Linked DNA regions of Homo sapiens: all the other regions are linked to region 2. Evidence: promoter capture Hi-C in human tissues and cell types (Jung and others, 2019). All regions are on one chromosome and are shown on one strand. The core of a region is centred on a gene start or on the middle of the fragment in contact, and the rest is flanking DNA. Distances in the headings are between cores, read along the strand shown. Region 1 overlaps FREM1 (FRAS1 related extracellular matrix 1). Region 2 holds the start of CER1 (cerberus 1, DAN family BMP antagonist). Region 3 overlaps FREM1 (FRAS1 related extracellular matrix 1).

What was found. Contacts are between HindIII fragments. The study calls those that stand out against the background at their distance.
Region 1: a fragment that was not itself captured here is called in contact with the fragment with the promoter of CER1 in region 2 in 2 of the 25 tissues and cell types used here (mesendoderm cells and thymus).
Region 3: a fragment that was not itself captured here is called in contact with the fragment with the promoter of CER1 in region 2 in 7 of the 25 tissues and cell types used here (H1 embryonic stem cells, bladder, heart left ventricle and 4 more).

What each region holds. Positions count from the first base shown.
Region 1 is chr9:14,776,788-14,779,487 of GRCh38, forward strand. All of the region lies in intron 24 of FREM1 (FRAS1 related extracellular matrix 1), which reads right to left. Among named protein-coding and RNA genes, the nearest start is that of CER1, 55 kb to the left of the region's middle. The HindIII fragment of the contact is 3,379 bases long and covers 1-2,700 here.
Region 2 is chr9:14,721,467-14,724,166 of GRCh38, forward strand. It overlaps CER1 (cerberus 1, DAN family BMP antagonist), which reads right to left and starts at 1,267. Exons shown (of 2, transcript NM_005454.3): 1 at 700-1,267. The coding sequence starts at 1,206. RefSeq lists enhancers at 415-1,354, 1,355-2,292. The HindIII fragment of the contact is 6,126 bases long and covers 126-2,700 here.
Region 3 is chr9:14,755,756-14,758,455 of GRCh38, forward strand. FREM1 (FRAS1 related extracellular matrix 1) reads right to left here. Exons shown (of 37, transcript NM_001379081.2): 29 at 619-691. Among named protein-coding and RNA genes, the nearest start is that of CER1, 34 kb to the left of the region's middle. The HindIII fragment of the contact is 4,137 bases long and covers 1-2,700 here.

The sequences.
Region 1 (2,700 bases), core at 169-2,668, 55 kb after region 2:
TCATTTCCATGGCTCTGAAAAATGAAGGGGATGGACCAGAAGATCATTAAGTACCACCCAACTCTAAAATATGACGGGAGGCTCTAATCTCTTATGGTTTACATGTGCTTCTGCACTTTCTCCCCCTATAAGACAGATGAGAGTTATGCTACACAAGGATTATTTTCCTGCTTCAAAGAAAGGTTCACAAAGTTGGTGGGAGATCATAAGGGCAGGTAGGAGATGAAGCTGAGACTAGAATGCAGGTCTTTTAATCCCTGCACCCACTACTCTTGCAGAGTTTAAAACAAATTCTGGTTTAGCAATCCACCACAAAAGAGTTGTGGTGCCTGAGCACCATTGCAAAACTATAAAAAGAAAGCTGAAATGATACACATTTGAGACAAGCAAAATCTTTCTTACAGTCTTAGGTTTGTGATATCTTAATGTGCTTTTGATTCTATTGATCATGAAATCACATTCTACCTACTGAAGCCAATTTCACAATAACACTGATTTAAATGATCTTTGTAGCATTACAATATGTAATTTTTATTTCAATAAGATTAAGAGTATCATGAAATTATGCAAACAAGGCACAATATTAAAACTCCAAAAAGTTAGGAAATCGTTACTATCCAATGGGACTGACAAATTCACTGTACACCAAAGAAATGTACTTAGAAATAATCACAGAATTGTGCCTTGTTAGCTTTTCTCCATGTACCATAGTTGCTGGAAATATTCGTAGAGGATGCACTCTTCTATTCCACCGATACAAAAACCTCTAAAACTAATGCTTTCGTAGAATGTATAAACTATACATAACATTTTTATGTATAAATTTTATATACATATATAAATTGTATATTTTCTTTGGAAGTTCTTTTTTAACTAGAGAAGGTATGGCATTTATATTTATTTTACAAATCTGGCAGATTTGACTAACAATCCCTTTATTCTTTGTGAAATGTGTCTTGTCCTTCAGGGTTTGAGCATTGATCCTTTTGAGCATGAAGAAACCTGAAGCTATTAGATAGTGTGAAAGCAACGAGTCAACCAGCCTGCCTGCGACCACGGACTCAGGGAGGGCAGTTAGACAAAAAGTAAAAAGAGATGAGTTTGGCTGAGTACTGATATTGCTTTGAAGGCTATGCTGAAGTTTTTTAGTTTTCTAATTATCTAGTTAATAAGACTGTTGACAAGGAAAATATATCTGATTTGATGCAAAGAAAAAGAAATCTATGTCCAAAAAGTTAAAATTGCTAAGTGAAATACAACAAATAAAGTAAATTTTGACATTTCACACACCTCGACTTGTAAAGAATGAAACCTCATACATTTCCCCCACAGCAGCATTTTTTACACCTTGAATAAAGGTATTCAGTTACCTTTAGAATTATAGATTGAGCAAAATCACATAATTTTCTCAAAACAAACCAATCAGTTTTCCTTTCATAAAATTAAACCTTTGATAAGTATATTTTTAACAAATTGGGCAATTTCATTACTGGATCATGAGGCATTTATAAAAATCAATTATTTATTAAAAAAAATAAAAGAGGCTGGTGCAGTGGCTCACACCTGTAAACCCAGTACCTTGGCTGGCCAAGGCGGGCAGATGGCTTGAGTCCAGGAGTTCAATATCAGCCTGGGTAACATGGCAAAACCCTTTCTCTACAAAAAATACAAAATTTAGCTGGGTGTGGTGCGTGCCTGTAGCCCCAGCTACTAGGGAGGCTGAGGTGGAAGGATCACTTGATCCTGGGAGGTTGAGGCTACAGTGAGCCATGAACGTGCCACCGCACTCCAGCCTGGGCAACAGACAGAGAACCTGTCTCAAAAAAAAAAAAAAAAAAAAAAAGAGGAAAGGAAAGGGAGGGAAGGGAGGGGAGGGAGGGGAGGGAGGGGAGGGAGGGAAGGGAAGGGAAGGGAAGGGAAGGGAAGGGAAGGGAAGGGAAGGGAAGGGAAGGGAAGGGAAGGAAAGGAAAGGAAGTCAGGCGCGGTAGCTCACGCCTATAGCTTGGACACTCTGGGAGGCTGGGGTGGGTGGAGCGCTCGAGCTCAGGAGTTTGAGACCAGCCTGGGCAACATGGCAAAAGCCCATCTTAAAAAAAGAAAAATAATTTTAAAAAAGAAAATAAAGGAACCTAGAAAAATATGTCTGTTCTTCAAACTTTTTACTTAGTCACCTTCACAGTTTCAAAAGTAAACTGATATACATTTTTAGGTATAAAATTATGCTTTATTTCTCAGGCAGAGCCTGAGAACAGAGTTATGCCTTTATTCTATTGTTTTTCTGTTACTTTTTCATATTCCCCCCAGATCCTATCATCTGACCCACAATAAAATAGGAAGGAGGCTAGGTGCTCCCTCAGTGCCTCCAAGTTCCCTTTTTCCCATTTTCCCCCTCCAGAAATATGTTTCACACCTCTCATTCTACCCTGTTTCACATTAAACTGGCTCTCTGTTCCTTACCAGATCCCTGTATCAAGTGTGCTCTGTGGAGAGTGTTAAATCAGCCATTGGTACCTTAGCGCAAATATAAGCCAAAGGACGTGTATTTTTAGCATTAGCATTAATTGTAGAGCTATAGACATTGTGCACTATTAAAAGTATGTCAAATATCAGCAGAGAAGGAAGAAGAAAGAAGGGGAGAGATGGGACCAGGAGCAACAAACCCAAATGCAAGCTTGAGTGAGTGCCAGGGACTCCATCAGA
Region 2 (2,700 bases), core at 17-2,516:
CACATCAAGATTGATTTTTTAAAAAGCTCATATGAGAAAATAAGTGAAAGAAAATCACTTTTTTGCTATCATAATACTAGAAATGATATGACAACTTTTGCCTGAGAACCTCAACGTACTTTGAGGTTGTGGGATAGCTTTAGCAAGCTATTAAAGAAGTCCCTCATAAACCTATAAAGTAATTAAGTATGGACTATGGGGATTAAGACCATCGTAAATGGATATGAGAGTATTTGGGAAGGAGTCCAATGCACCCCACTTTATCAACAAATGGAGTTGACCTGCTCATCCACATATTAATAGAGTGCAGAAAGATAGCTACAGAGGAGTTCTGGTGATTACTCTAAATTCTCAGTTTCCTAACTGAGGGTACAGTCTGACTTATATCTCTGAGTAGATCACCTCCAATGCAAAAATAAATAAATAAAACAGAGCTCTGTGTCTTCAGTGTGAATGAATGATTACTGATATTGACAGTATCATCATATCATTCTTGCAGCATTTCCACAATGCCAAGAAAAAATGGAAAGGCCAGAAGGAAACTTAATCTTTGCCAAATCCTATGATGAATGCCCAAGGACCAAATCTGTAGTTAAGCTAGAGTCAGGCTCCTGACAGCCTTTTCCCCTACTCTCCATCCATCCCAGCTGTCCACTACCACCTGCAAACTCTTACCTGCTCTCCCCCCAGAACACATACCTGGCTGAAGGGCACTGTCCTGCAGGTCTCCCAATGTACTTCATGGCTTTTGATGGGCAAGATGACCCCCTGAGAAGCCGGAGTTTTTCTGAACATGAAGTGGTGCCAGAATTTCTTGGCTTCTTCCCGAAGAGGAGATTTCTCCATTTTCATTCCATCTATCGGCTGGATGAGGGACTGGGTCCCAGGTGGGAAGGGCTCACTATCTGAGTCCCTGGATGGATGCATTTCTCTCTCAGGCTTCTTCCAGAACCTGCCAAATCTGGACAGCATCTTCTCTCTCTGCCTCTGGCCTTCCCCTGCAGGGCTGGTGGCTACAAGGTGTGGCACTGCGACAAACAGATCTGGCTTCTCCTCAGCTTCCTCATGGTTGCCTGTGGGAAGCTCTCTTTGATTCCTTGGCAGGAGTACGGGGGAAAGAGAACTCTGATTCTGGCGGCCATCCTGGTGCCGTGTGGTCTTTCCTAGAGGCAGGAGTACCAGCAGCTGAAATAAGAGGAGATGCATGCTGTCAGGGGCCCAAGCTTCTTTTGTAAATGATGAGGCCCAAAGGAGAGGCTCATTCTCTGCAGGACTGGGAAAAAGGAAATCGTATATATAGATACCTGCCTGGCGGGATGGGAAGGCAGGTGGTCAGTAGCCAGGCAGAATAAACACATTTATTGTTTGCTTGAATTATGTAGTGCTAATGGCCTCCTGCCGTCACTTTGGTTTTGTGTATTTTAAAAGGCCCCAGTGAAAGCCTGGGACCCAGGGGGTAATTAGCTAAGAGTTTAGCTATGTCTGGGGCTTAAAGAGCAGTATTAGCAAAGACAACACATTCTTTGCCTAAATTTCCCATGGCTGTTTTCAGAAGAAGGACTAGAGTCAGCTCACATTTGCTGTGCATCTGCCTTGTGCTGGAATAGAATAGACAAGACATGTTGCTGTAAGAGAAGTTTTTGGATAAAAATTAAAGGCATACATTTAGAAAAAGCCCAGGCCTTTAGGAAGGCTATTCACACACACACACACACACACACACACACACACACACACACACACACGAAGAAGTATATCAAAGTTGTAAGGAGAAGAAAGGAAGAGCTAGAAGGATGTTAATTTTTTTGAGCAAGGGACATATTGTTTCTTACTTACATGCAAATTGGGGTTATTGATTTTTGCACAGTAACTGAGTAAAGGGAATATGTTTTCCTTTCCACACGTAGAAACTCACAATTCCCAAGTTAATCCTCTCACATTAAGAATCAATTAATGGGTGCTAAATTTCACAACTGGTCAGTCATCAGATAAACTCTTCCAATTGTTCACATGTTCCTCAACAGGATACCACGTAATAGACTGACAGCTCATCAGTCTTCAATGAGGATAGGGAAATGTCTCCCTCCAGCCATCCTATTGATTTTTTTTTCCCTTTGAACAAAGAGCCAGACATGAGAACGTGGATTCTAAGAACCAGGTTTGATAACTTTGTGTGTGACGCTGGCTAGTCAGTTTCTTACCTTATTGAATCCACATCATCTCCCCTTGTTTTACACTAATTGATGGCCAGGCTAAATAAAGATTGACACAAATAAGAGTCTTCGGGGATCAAAGGAAAAATTGAAAAATAACTATCATTCAAAACTATCATGAATCAGCCTAGGATACGAAAAAGAAACACGTCCAGAAAACTGAAACCCCAGAATAGAGTCCGATCAGCCTACCACATGATTCAAACAGTATTTCCACTGGGAAGCAATGCAATATCTGCTTTTATTTCTCCCCTTTTAATTCAATCACTATATTCCTTGCTTTCAATAACACAAATAGTCCTGGAACATGTTCCCCCTTTTTTGTCAATACTGATTAAACTTTCTTTCCAAGAAGTGACCCACTGGAGTCTGTTTTCCAGGCATTTCTGTTCTTCTTGATAGCCATGCCTGATTTCTATGAAATAAAGCCTTAAGTAAGTCCCTTTACCCATGATAATGAGCTATTTTTAACATGGACCATCACTTT
Region 3 (2,700 bases), core at 172-2,671, 34 kb after region 2:
CTCATCTTTTGGGTCCCAGTGCACTATCAGTGAGTGTTAATTCTTGTCTGTGTTTCTCACACAATGGAACACACTTGAGAGCAAGTACCAGCCTTTTTTATTTCCACTTGCACCTAGCAAAATTTTTCCACAAATTTAAAACAAAGTAAGTGCTACTTAACTAAATAATAATTTCCCCTGGAATCTCCTAATATCAACCTATTCCATGAGGGATCATTTAGAAATGCCCTTTAGGAATCCATATAAACATAACATTCTGAAAATTTTCATAAAATATCTGAGGCAATTAAACTATAACAGCTTTGTGTTAGAACTTCAAATAATTTCTAAGTGACTGTATTTTTTTCTGGATTGTCTTGGATGTTTGCTTTGATATCTCATATTTATTATAATCTTTCTTCTCATTTGAAATCAAAATTCATTTGTTACTAAAAAAAAATAAGGGCAAAACCTCAAATCCAAACACCTCTCTTTTAGAGTGAGGTGGTATGGCTCCCTGAGGAGTTTCTAGTTGGCTAAAGTTGTGTAACATTCTATCTTCTCTACAATCTCCAGACATGCCTACAAAAAAAAACAAAAAACAAAACACATAAAACAAACTGCAGACACAAAATGTACCTGGGTCAAACTGAATCAGTTTAGATGGAATCACGGTGAAATCTTTTCCAACTGCAGCTGACACTTGGTTGACCTTAGGAGGGAAAAAAAAATCTTTTTAAGATAAAAATAAATATTCTACAATAGAGAAACAGCTATTCTCCCTCATACTGGACTAAACTCATGCTCTTAAATCTGTTTTTAATATTAGGTAGGGTTTTTAAAAAAATTATATAAGCCATTTGGGATCCAGGCAACATGCATTTTCCTTAAAGTTGACTTTTTCCTAGGCTAATATCAATGGAAAGGAAAGCTTTTGTTTTGTTTGGTTTTTCCTTTATAAATGATTTAGTTATTGAAGAAAGGAACATGAATTTTAAACTATATTTTTGTCTTTGTTGCAAGCACAATTTTATTACCTTCCTTCTATCCCAATTTGGTTTTAAAATAGTCCCTCAAAAGAAAAGGAGGGAGAAAATTGATGAGGAGAAGAAAAAGCAGGTACCCCTGACAACCCATGTGATGATCTGTCAGCTAGCTTGGAGGTATCCTGCAAGCTCCAGGGCACTGAAAGCCTTTAGACTAGATTAACTCAAACACATCTGGTTCATTTTCCTGTCTGGATGAAGCCATTACTCTTCACAAACATGAAAGGAGAGTTTTGTGGAACCGGAAGACCTGGTGAACAACCAGACAAAGGAGATCCACACCCAAAACCAAGGACTTTCAAGGACCCCGTCAGGTAGGTGTTTTAAAACAACAACAACAAAAATGCCCTAGTCTAAGGAGACTATTGATACACCCCTGCTTCTCAGCTCCAGCCCCAAGACTAAAAACCAAAGAGGCGATTTTAGCGCTCTGAAGTCATGGCCTTGAATTCCACCCAAAGGGTGCCCAAACACATGTTAAGAAGTGTCCTTGAGCCGGCACGGTGGCTCACGCCTGTAATCCCAGCACTCTGGGAGGCAGAGGTGGGTGGATCACTTGAGGTCAGGAGTTCAAGACCAACCTGGCCAACATGGTGAAACCCCGTCTCTACCAAAAACAAAAAAATTGGCCAGGCATGGTGGCGGCCGCCTGTAATCCCACCTCCTGGGGAGGCTGAGGCAGGAGAAGAGCTTGAACTTGGGAGGTGGAGGTTGCAGTGAGCCGAGATGGTGCCATTGCACTCCAGCCCGGGTGATAGAGTGAGATTCCATCTCAAAAAACAAAAAAAAAGTGTCTTTGGCTGATTTGAAAAATAAGTCATCAAATGAGAACCGTGTGCAAGCATTTCTGTTACTTGTGTGTATTTTTTAGATGTTTAAGATGGTCAGGAATGTGGGATAATATATTTCTGTACCTTCTGACAAAAGAATGAAGTGCATAATGAAAAGCTGAAAAATTCCTACTTCTATGGCCTCAGACAATATGTCCATTTCAAATCAAAGGCCCCCTCATATATTAATTGGTTAGCAGTGGAAACATTTTGCTGGAAAAGGGGATTACCTTCCTAAGCTTCCATTTGCTCTTTGTCTACAATGCCAAGGCTCCTCTGGAACCACCTTTCATTGTGAAAAGGCAGCCCATTATACACCTGTATCCACCATATGCTGGAAGTTGCATTTCCCTGCATGGTTCTTGCATGTCCAATTACCTAGTATTTACTACCACTGAGTTTACAGAATCCTATGTGGGAAAAGGAATGGTCTGAGGCAAGGTGGTTGGAGAAATCAGTCAGGTGAAGGTGCACAATTCAAACCAGGGCAATCCACACAGGGTAAAAGCACCACCTCTTTCCCTGCTCCCAGTCAAGCAGCCAAGCTCTAGTGTAAGGCTGCAGGTTGTGCTCAGGGTAGAGTTGTCCTGAAAGACTCTGGGACTGTGCTTGATGAAGGCCTGCACACTCAGCTGGCACGTTTGTTGTGCACTTTCAGCATAAATAAGCATAAGGTTCCATGTAACACCATGCCTCTTCTTTCTACCTGGCAAGGTGAATGGTGGCGTGGCCCAAAACTCCAGCCTAGAGCATATGGTGCTTTCTATGGAGGACGGGAGGATTATTAGAAAACCATCCAGGCAGATTCTTCCTTATTCCATAAGCAATCTTCTGGAAAACTATAG